Linked DNA regions of Homo sapiens: region 2 is linked to region 1. Evidence: promoter capture Hi-C in 16 types of primary human blood cells and fetal thymus (Javierre and others, 2016). All regions are on one chromosome and are shown on one strand. The core of a region is centred on a gene start or on the middle of the fragment in contact, and the rest is flanking DNA. Distances in the headings are between cores, read along the strand shown.

The links. Contacts are between HindIII fragments. The CHiCAGO score rates a contact against its expected background, and 5 or more counts as called.
Region 2: a contact is called between a fragment that was not itself captured here and the fragment with the promoter of FNDC1 in region 1, in 1 of 17 cell types (total B cells). The highest score is 7.6, in total B cells.

The regions. Positions count from the first base shown.
Region 1 is chr6:159,166,253-159,171,856 of GRCh38, reverse strand. It overlaps FNDC1 (fibronectin type III domain containing 1), which reads right to left and starts at 2,457. Exons shown (of 23, transcript NM_032532.3): 1 at 2,152-2,457. The coding sequence starts at 2,260. It overlaps FNDC1-AS1 (FNDC1 antisense RNA 1), which reads left to right and starts at 1,850. Exons shown (of 4, transcript NR_121668.1): 1 at 1,850-2,045; 2 at 3,096-3,324; 3 at 4,503-4,608. RefSeq lists an enhancer at 1,103-1,602 and a silencer at 2,409-2,578. The HindIII fragment of the contact is 8,244 bases long and covers 1,399-5,604 here.
Region 2 is chr6:160,452,843-160,458,446 of GRCh38, reverse strand. No RefSeq gene overlaps it. Among named protein-coding and RNA genes, the nearest start is that of SLC22A3, 110 kb to the right of the region's middle. The HindIII fragment of the contact is 6,115 bases long and covers 319-5,604 here.

The sequences.
Region 1 (5,604 bases), core at 1,208-3,707:
GCTTCTTTAAAGAAGAAAATAAAAATCATCCCTAACCATCCTAAGATACCCACTGCAAATATGTGCATGTGTGAGTACATCCACATGTGTTTAGAAAAATGTATCATACCAGACTGGCAAGGCCATCATAATTTTAATGTTTGCATAGTATCCTATTGTAGGGATGAATATGAGTGGAGGAGGGGACACTGCTTGCTTATTTTGTTTTATGTTTAATTGACCCTACACTGAAGGGCTTATCCAGATCTTCAGTGTGTCCTGCTTTAAGCAAAGTCCCTCGGAGCCACTATTATGTGGCCGTGGGTAATTTCCTTACAGAGATTCTGGCCCCAAAAGGGTGGTGAAGGGGAGAGCTTGACACAAGCAGCTCGCTTGGTCCATGCATTAGTTCAACCAGAGAGAGGGAGCAGTCTATCCATGACGTTGCTGTCAAAGGGAGCCCATGAAAGAAGTTATGTACCCCATAATTTCATCCACAGCATGGGGAGCTATCTACAGGTTGCTATGTCTGTTTCTATCCTTCTATTACTTAATTTAAATTTAGTAGATTTCATTCTGAAATGTGCCTGTCCTCCTTTGTCCACCTCTAGTCTGGTCATCATTTGACTGTAGATCCCACGTCAACACAGTAGAGAGAAGGGCTGGGAAGCTGTCCAGCCCCAGCATTCCTCAGCACAGTGATTCACAGAGCAGAAGGCGAAAAAGCAAGAGTGCAGATCGCGGTGGGATTCCAGGAGCTCTCACAAACAACCCCGCTCGGACCCACTCACATGCAACCCACGGGCAGGTGGCAGAGGAATCGGAAAAGCAGAAGGCTGGAATCGCCACAAAGCCAGGGCAGCACTGGTTCCAGTTTCAGATCATTTTCAGAAACAAAAACTCTTCCAGCACTCTGAAAATTTTCACTTAGAAAAACAAAAGCCAGGAGTTGTAGGTGGGGAAGTTGGAAGACTTTATTTAGTTTTATTCCTCTCAAGTACTGTGCAAAGTATTCAGTGAATACTTTCCTAGAGTTCACTAATGGGAAGAAAAAGACCCTACGGCAGGCACTGCCTTTTATGAGAAAGTGGCATTGGCATCAGAATACCTCGCATAAACCTGAGCCAAGCATTGGGATGATGTATCTACCAAAAAGTCACAAAGTAATGTGATCCCCAACTTTTCTTCCTTTACCCCTGAAGTAAGAGAACAATATATACACTAAATAGCATCATAAAACTGGTACCCTCGTTGGAATAGTATCTGACGATCATTGTCTGCTTCTTGGATTTCTACAAACCAATAACCTAAAAGCCAGTTTCAAGTGTAAAAATGCCTGCAAAGGAGGTGGTAACAAGGGCCGCCAAAGGCTTAGGAATGAAAACCTCGCCACAAACTTGTCTCTCTCTGCAGGAAGCTTGCAAGAAATCTGACAGGAGCGCGCTAGCATTTTCTGAAAAGCATTGCTCTCAAAGGAAGCATCCATCCTGGCTGCAGCCTCAGCCATTGGGGAAGGGCGAGTTTCTCTGGAATCAGCTTTCTCATTTCCCTCTCCCTCCTCTCAAGACAAACATTTTCTCCCAGCTTGAACGTTCCCCCCGGGCGCGCGGGCCTCCTGCCGCCTGGAGCCGAGCTGGCACTGGAGCGCTTCTCCTCTGGAGCGCAGAGGCACCCGACGCCCTGCGGCAGCTCGCAGCCTTTCCCCCACGACCTTCTAGAACAGCCCTGCTCTGCCTCCCTCCGGTCTCCCGAGTGCGCCCGTCATCCTGCCTCGCGAGAGGTGAACGCGGAGAAAGTAGGATGACCACCTACGCTCCCGAGAAATTCTGGGCAAAGAAAGGCATTACCCCAGTCCGCACGCTGAAAGTCGCCTTTCTTTTCCTTTTTTCCCCGCTGTGCCTGAATCTCCCGGGACACTTAGACGGCTGGAGCCTCCCGACTCCAAGGCGGGCGACGGCAAAGTTAAACGCCAGCGCGCTGCGGTCCCCGGGCACCGAGGCGTCCCCGCTCCCGCCACCCACACAGGGCGCCAAGTGCCCCGACCCGCGAGTGACGAGGACGCACAGGCTAGTGACACGACCCGTAGCCAGCACTGAGCGGGACGACGGGGCCCGAGCGCAGGAGGGTGCGCGGGGAGCTGAGGAGCGCCGGGGGCCCGGGCGCGGCGCGTACCTGAGGCCGCCGCCGAGGAGGCGACGGGGAGCAGCGCGGCCAAGAGCAGCAGCGCCGCCCAGGACAGCCGGCGCGGCGCGCGCAGGGTCGCCCCGGCCTCGGGGGCCATCGAGAGCCCGGGGTGGGCCGGGGCTGGGTGCTTGCGGCTGGCAGGGGGGCGCTGGCCGGAGTCTGGGGAGTGCCGAGGCGCCGCCGTCGGGTCCCCGCCGCCGTCCGTCTGTTCTGCGCGCTCTGCGCGGTGCCCGCCGCGCCCCTGCCCCGCGGCGATCGCTCCCGGCCGCACACCGGCAGCCGCGCTCCGCCACTGAGGCCGCCGACCTCCCGCCGAGCCTTTTAGCTGCGCTCGGGCGCCCCCTGCCGGTGTGCGGGGCCGGGGCCAGGGCCGGCGGGGGCGACCCGGGCGACAGGGGCGACGGGGGCGGCGGGGCCCGGGCTGGAGGCGGGCGGGGCGCGGGACGAAGGGGCCGGAGCGCCCCGGACTGACTTAGCGGTTCTGAACTTGGGGCGGTCGCTGTGCCGGGCCAAGTGGCTGAGGAAGTTCCTCCCCTCGTCTAACCCTCTCATTTTCTGGCTGGGGAAGTCGCCCATCGCGCCGAGGAGTGCCCTTTGTCCCCTTACAGAAACACCTCTGCGCCCCAAGTGGGGACTCGGGCCGGGACCCCTCACCCGGTCCGCAGCGCTGTAGTTCCTGTGGCTAGCCCAGTCCTTCCACGTCCCTACCCGCACCCGGCGCGCCCACGTCAGGGGTTTTCAGCGTCCTTAGACCCTGCTCCGTCTGGCTGTCATTTCTAGGGCGCGCACGATGCGGGTCGAAAAGGAACCCAGTTTTCAGTGTGCCTTGTTGCCCAGGCCAAGGACTCAGCGGACCTCGCCTCTCCCTTTTCTGTAATTGTAACACTGCCCCAGGTCTCCCTATTCCTCCTTCTCCCTATTCCTCCTTCCAGCCTGGAAGCCTCGCGGCCCTCCAGATGGACTCGGAGCGCCCCTGGAGGCTACAGTGACCTAAGCTCTAGGAAGGCCGGGTCCTGGACGCCGCGTGCTGCTGTCCGCCGCCGACCGGTGTCCTCGCAGAGATAACCTGGCTGAACTCACCGCCCAGCGCTATGTCAGTTCTCCCTCATGACAACCCAAAACTTGACCGGATTTGTGTTCTGCAGAGAGGAAAAAAAAAAGGTAAATGAATTGCAAAGAGATGAAAACCAGAAATACAGTATCTCTTTGAATTTGAGCACCCAGGAAAGGTGTAAACCTACCGCCTTCCTTTCCAGGAAACTCTCCTGCTTCCCAGCAAAGGTTTTTGTTTGTTTGTTTTTCTTTTTCTTTTTGTTTTGAGACAGGGTCTCCCTCTGCCTCTGCCGCCCAGGCTGGAGTGCAGTGGTGCAGTCTTGGCTCACTGCAACCACCATATCCCAGGCTCAAGCCATTCTCCTGCCTCAGCCTCCTAAGTGGCTGGGACTACAGGTTTCAGCCACCATGCCCAGCTCATTTTTGTATGTTTTGTAGAGACAGGGTTTCCCCACGTTGCCCAGGCTGGTCTCCAACTCCTGAGCTCAAGCAATCCGCCCACCTTGGCCTCCCAAAGTGCTGGGATTACAGGCGTGAGCCACCACGCCCAGCCCAAACACACTTTCCTGCATTACTCCCTTATGTTATCATGTTTCCCCACATGCCATTTAATGGAGCTGTGTGGTTTCTGTCTCACCAGCAGCCACCCGGCTCTGCCTATTTTGGGGGAATGGTAGCTCCCTCCCCAACTCCAACCAAGTGACAGGCCCCCTCCTTACTCCCACTCCTTCCCAAAGCCCCACTTCCCCACTGGCTCAGGGCTCTGCAGTGGCCTAGACAGGGTCACTCAGAGTTGGGACTCTTCTAACACGGGCTGGTGGAAAGGTCTCTTTCTCCCATCATTCGTGGATTTGGAAGGATGGTAGCCATGGCAGGCTGAAACACAGCCTTCCTCCCCAAAAAGACATTCCTGTCCTAGTCCCTGACCCTGTGAATGTCACCTTACATGGTTTATTAAAAAGCAATTAAGCATGCTGAGACAGAGAGATTATCGTGGATTATCTGGGTGGGCCCTAATGCAGTCATGTATGTAACTTATAAAACAGAGGAGAGGGAGATTGACGCACACAAGAGAAATCCAGGTGAGGACGGAGGCAGCCATGGGAACGATGCACCCACAGCCCAGGGATGCTGGCAGCCCTCACCAGAGGCTGGAAGAGGCTCCTCCAGAGCCTGTGCTGGACTTCAGGCCAGTGGAACTGATTTCAGACTTCTGGCCTCCAAGACTGAGAGAGCAGATTTCTGTTGTTTAAGCCACCCACCCCGTTTGTAATTACTTCTTACAGCGGCCACCGAACACCAGTGCAGTAGCCAGGATGGGCCTGTGGCTCTGGCTGCAGCCTCCAGGGACACCAGCTGGAGAGAAGGAAGCCACGCATGGAGAGCGGCCAGGTGGGTAGAAAAGAGCCGGGCAGATGCAAGAGTCCCGGGCTCCACCTCACCCCTGCGCTTTCTGAACGCTGGTTCTGGGGACAGCACATTCCCTTTTGCTAACTTGGAATGAGATTTCTATTTTCTATAACCAATGAGTCTTGACTAGTGCACTCCCCCCTGTTCTTAAGAGGACAAGAACCAAGACTTATCTTTATTGCTCATCTGTCACCCAAAAGAGGCCATCACAGAACCAAACACAGTAATATCCAGGAAATGCTGAGGTTAATTGCCATTCATTCATTCATTCAGCAAATACTTATTGTGATCTACTCTGTCCCCAGCACTGCTGTAGACCCCGGGGATTAGCAGTGACTGAAAGCAGATGAATAGCAGGAGTTAAGTTAAAAGCAGAGAAGGGGAGGCAGCACTGAGGACTTTACAGGCTGCAGGAAGGGTTTAGGCTTTCAATCTGAGAGGTGAAGGGCAACACTGGAGAATTCTGATCAGAGGAGACACGGGTAAGCAGGCTCTTACAATCCCAGTGAGGCAAGACGGTGCTTGGACATGATGGACAGCAGTGGGGCACGAGAACCAGTGAGGTTCTGGATGCATCTTAAAGGTATGGTTTGGGAGATTTTCTGACTCATTGGATGTGGAGAAAAAGAGGATTTGCAATATACCGAGTCACACTATTCTCATGCTGCTGGTTAACTCTCCATTGTGACTTCTGTAATTTCAGGATGTCACTCTTTAGTTTCATTGTAATGAACTAATCATATGCCATAATCTCTATATGCACACAGTGAAAGCTCAACAGACATCAGTTTCCTTCCCTGCATCCTCAGGAGATGCATGTGCACTTACCTTCCTCCCCAGAATACTTATTAGAGCAACTTTCTTAGGGGTACATTTCAGAGTGAAGCACAATGCAAAATTACTTCCAATTTTAGAGTTTCAGAACCCTCAACCATGGGCTGTTTGATATTAAATGAAATTACTGACACTTATGAGTTC
Region 2 (5,604 bases), core at 2,127-4,626, 1.3 Mb before region 1:
TGTGCAGGATGTGGTGTCAGCACCTGTATTACATTTTAAGGATTCCTTCTCTTTGCAGTATGCTCTGACAATTATTATACCCATCAGCCTTACCCCCTTGGCAGTAGGAAAACTAAAACTCTTAATGTCTCAATTCCGCTTTCTCAGAGGTGCAGGTGAGGGCGTAGGGAGTCTGGGGCCCTGGAAAAGCGTTCTGACTCTGCCACTAGCCAGATAGACCTGAACTACACACGTTACCTCTTTGTATCACTTGGCTCTAATCCCTGTAAAACCAGCATTTTCAAATGGTGCTTTGCACATCAGCCTTTTGTATAAGCTTTCATTTAATGAAATGTCTTTTGGGTTTTTAAAAAACGTTAAAAACCACTGGCCTAGATAATTTCAAAGCTGGGTTCCCTATTTCTGTCTCTTTCCTATTATATTTAAAACCTCACCTCCTTGACTTCTTGTTCCCTTTTTCTGCACTGCTTAGTCTGGGAGCAGTGAGGCCAAATAAAAGGAAACTTGGCTTGAGGGACACCTATGGGTGTGCCAGGCTGCTCCTGGTGTTTGCATATTTTAAAATTTAAATACTAGAAACCTCTCCGCGTTAGGTATTGTTGTTTCCATTTTACCATTGAGGAAGCTGGGGCTCAGAGAAGGTGCAGGGTGGTACAGACAAACCTGAATTGGAACCCTGGCTCCCGCCTATGGGCTGTCGGGACTTAGAAAAGTCGTGAGCTCTCGCTGATTGTTTCCTAGCTGATGTGGGCTGCAGGGCTGTTACAGGGAAATAATAAGAAAGTGCATCAAGTGCCGAGCACATCCTAAGCACTCCACCATGGCAGCTCCTACTAATAATATGGAATAGAGTTGAATCTAACATGACTCTTTCTTGCAAGTGACAGAAAATCCAACTCAAATTGGATTAAGCAAAACAAGGCAAATTCTTAGTGAGCTGAAAAGTCTTCAGGCTCACATTAGGCCCCAGACCCCAGACCCTCCCAATCATGGAGTAGGCACTATTTGGGGCACAAAGGTGACACTCCCGTGGCTGCAGATGCTGTGGTGGCTCTGGCTCTGTTGAGAAAGAATAAGAAAGGCCACTCTCTCCCTTACATGAACAATAGTCTGTCCACTCTGAGAGACTGAAATTGGGTCATGGTCCTGCCCCTGAGCCCGTCACTGATTGGCTCTGACCTGCATCAGCTGTTCCATGCTGAAGGTGGAGGCAGGACCCCATTCATACCCAGAAGGGAGCAAAAGGTAGATCCCTCACCAGAATTATGGGATGTAGGGTGAAAGGCTGCTGGGCAGCCAGAAAACAAACAGATCCTCTACAATACTTCAACTGATGAAAGCATGAAGCTAAAATCATAAGGATCCGGGTGTGAGTTCTGTCTCTCCCATATTCCATGTGACGTTGGGCAGTTATTTAATCTCTTTTAGCCTCAGCTTTCTCATCTGTACTTACATATAAGGTCATTGTGAGGATTAGGGTTATTAATCATCGCCGTCATCCCCGTCCACCACTTATCATCATCCTCCCCATCAACATCATCACCACCACCGTCATCATCATTACTACCATTACCATCACCACCATTCCACCACCATCACCATCATCACCATCACCACCGCCATCATCATCATTACTACCACTACCACCGCCATCACCACCATCACCATCACCACCATTGCCATTATCACTACCACCACCATCATCACCATCACCACCACCATCACCATTATCATTACCACAACCATCATCACCACCACCATCATCACTATTATCACTACTATCACCATCACTATCACCACTATCATCATAAATAAACATCACATAACCGGCGTGTAACCGGGCCTTGACCCCAGAGCCCACTCGCTGTGTCCTCTCTCCCACCCCCTTCTGCACATTTCTAACCACCATCCTGCACTGGCTCCCTGTCTCCTCTGGTCTCACCCACATGTCCACTGAGAAAATGATTCTCAGAACACTAACTAGACCAGGAGGAGTCACAAAACATAACTCAGATCTGTTTATCGATTTTCTATATGTTGATGACATCAGATCAATGGGTGTTCTCAGCTTCTCAGAGGGAGGTCGAAATTCTCCCCCTCTCCCCTTCATGTTTCCAGACCTTCCTTGACTTGGATATTCCAAATGCAGAGTAGGTGTTGAGGCCAAGGGGCTCTTCCGTGTCAGCCCCATCCACAATCACTGGGCTAATCTTGTGGCCCTCTCCCCAGGACCCAATCAGGGAGGGCTTCAATCCTCAAGGTCACCCGTGGCCCCCCGCCCTCAGAGGTGCCATCTCTACATTGGCCACTGGATGGCAGCACATACTCACAGACCGCGTCAATTTCCTGGCAACTAGTGGTGGGTTTACCTCCTGATCAGGATGTTTGCCTTGCTCTGAGAGCAGATCTGAGAGCAGTGATATCTAACTTAATTTTCAGCAAAATATTTTGAAAAGGGTGCTCCCTCACCCATCTACACAGTCCACGTCATGCACCCCCTGCCCGATGCTTGGTAGCCAGGAGGAGCTTCCTCCATGCAGCTCCTTCCCGGCTAGGGCTGAGCTGGGCTCTGGAGCCAGGCTCTGGGAAGAGCCTCTTCTACGCTGCTCATGTAAACTCCAGATTCAGTGTCAGTTTTCTGAACCTGAGACAATGATCTAAGTGCAGTCCAACACTTTGGGGGAAGAAAGAAAGAGTGCCTCAGCTTTTGCCTGTGTCATGCTCGCAAAGCAAAATATTTTGAGAAATTCTAATCAAAGCTGGGCTTGCAAAATTGGAAAACGATTATTTGTGAGAGCACTGAGACATCCTTGGCGTGTCCATCTGGAAAAACAGCATTCCCTCTGGCAGTTTAGCAGATGTTCTGTTTCAATTTGGCAAAGGAAATAAAGCAGTTTTTCACAAAAGAAAAACTACAACTAGGAGAATTGTCCCTAGTTGTATTTCTTCTCCCTAATTGTCAAGGAAGTGTAAATCAGAAAATGAATCAGGACAATTTCCACCTACTATGTTAGCTAATCTTTTAAAAATTGAATACTCACAAGGGTGAGGAGAATTGTTTCCAGTAACATTTTATACTGTCACACACTTTTAGAAAATAATTTGGGAGTGTTACCGCGAGATGGAAATATGTCAACATAATTATGGGAACTTAGACTTCAGAAAAGAAACGAGAATGAACTTTATGAACAAACATGTGGAAGATTGGAAGCAAGAGTGGGGCCAGTGTGCACGGGGAGGAAGCATTTGGGCAGTGACTCCGCAGACCCAGGCTCAAGCTGAACTACACAACCTCCTTACACCTCAGTTTCCTCAGCTGTAGAACAGGAATGATAAAAGTGCCTGTTTCATAGGACGGTTGTGAGGATGAAGTGAGATACACCACATTAAGAGCTTGTGCCTGAAAAGGTTAATTCTTAGTAAATGACGACTATTCTTTTTATTGCAATAAAATATACACAACATAAGAGTTAGGATTTTAATTATTTTGCAGGGTACCACTGAATGGCATTCAGTACATTCACAATGGTGTGCAACCATCACCATATTTTCAGAACATTTTCCTCATCTCAAAAGGAAACCTCATGCCAATTAAGCAGTCACTCCCCATTAAAATATTAGTTATGAAGATTGTAGCATTATTTTAAAAACTCATGATATACATTGATTGAAAAAATCAGTATATAAAATTGTGCATTATGATGTAAGTAGTAAAGAAGCATATAAAAAATCTGAAAAAGTATATAAAAAGAATAGCAATTGCATTTCTCAGACTCTCTTTACATTGTAAAAATCATTTTCATACTTTCAAAAGAAAAGCAAAAAGTACACAAACAACAACGAACGTAAAACACCATGACAAAGCCCAGATCGTTAAACCCAGATCTCAGGAACACAGAATCATATATGATGTTTACACTCTCCAAGGTCAGAGAGTCCAGCGGCATTGGGAGCTGCCTTGTGTTCTGCAGCCTCACGGACAGACAGGAGGTCCAGTGCCACTGCTCTGTTCTTCTGGTTTTCCTCCTAAACATGTTTTGGGTTCAGCAACCATTTCTTTCATCTTTTAAACACAGGTACCTTTGGGGCTGGCCTTCTCAAGGAAGCCCCAGCTTCTTGTGATTGAGAATAAAGTGTGCAATCGCTATGAGTATCTGAATGGAAGAATCAAATCCACTGAGCTCTGTGCTAGGCATTTGGCTGGAGGCACTGACAGTTGCAAGGTAAGAAAAGGTCAAGAGACCAAAGTTAGTCTTGTGCTCTCCCTTCTTGGTCTCAGCCCCTTAGACTTCAGTCCCAAAGAGGCAAATTCTAGAAGGATTTGTCAACGTTAGACCCCAGTCTAAGTGTTGTTTAGAAACTGCCTAGATCTGTCCCTGAATGCGTATTCAGATCATCTAAGGGGATGTCTTGGGGCTTGAGTTCCAGATCGGTAGCAAGGGAGTTTTAAGTGCCGTAACTACCTCAGGCCACTCACCCTCCTGGGGTGTGCTGGTGGCCAGGGACTAAAGTGGTGACTTTTCCGACAGGGAAGGAGGTAGAGGGTACAGGACAGAGACCAACTGCACATACTTTACAGTGATGCCCAGGCTAGGCCAGTCTAAAGGAAACACCAACACAGGAAGGGATGTGTGCAGGATTCACAAGGGTTTTTTTTACCCCTGGGAGAAACTAAGTGGTGTGGTTTCGCTGAATAGATTTTGCTAAGTACTTAAGCACTGCAGATGCTCCAGTAATATGCCCATAAGTTCCTTTCCAATTTCAATTACTGGGAAAATATACATATGGACAATAGATGGATGCCACAATAAAAGGCTGGCAGCCTAACCCTCACATGAATTTTTCCCTACCTCTATTTAGGGTGACAGTGGAGGGCCTCTGGTTTGCTTTGAGAAGGACAAATACATTTTACAAGGAGTCACTTCTTGGGGTCTTGGCTGTGCACGCCCCAATAAGCCTGGTGTCTATGTTCGTGTTTCAAGGTTTGTTACTTGGATTGAGGGAGTGATGAGAAATAATTAATTGGACGGGAGACAGAGTGACGCACTGACTCACCTAGAGGCTGGAACGTGGGTAGGGATTTAGCATGCTGGAAATAACTGGCAGTAATCAAACGAAGACACTGTCCCCAGCTACCAGCTACGCCAAACCTCGGCATTTTTTGTGTTATTTTCTGACTGCTGGATTCTGTAGTAAGGTGACATAGCTATGACATTTGTTAAAAATAAACTCTGTACTTAACTTTGATTTGAGTAAATTTTGGTTGTGGTCTTCAACATTTTCATGCTCTTTGTTCACTCCACCAATTTTTAAATGGGCAGATTGAGGGGGTTGTGCTGTTTTTGATAAGGAACAGAGCACAAAGACCTGAGCAGGCTGCAAGGTCACAGAGGGCAGAGCCGAGAAGTCCTAGGAAGTTGTCCATGCATTTACCTCATCAGCTAACGAGGGCTTGACACACATTTTTATGTCTTTATACCTAACTCTGAGATGAATGTTTTCAAAGCTGCAACATGTATGGGGAGTCATGCAAACCGATTCTGTTATTGGGAATGAAATCTGTCACCGACTGCTTGACTTGAGCCCAGGGGACACGGAGCAGAG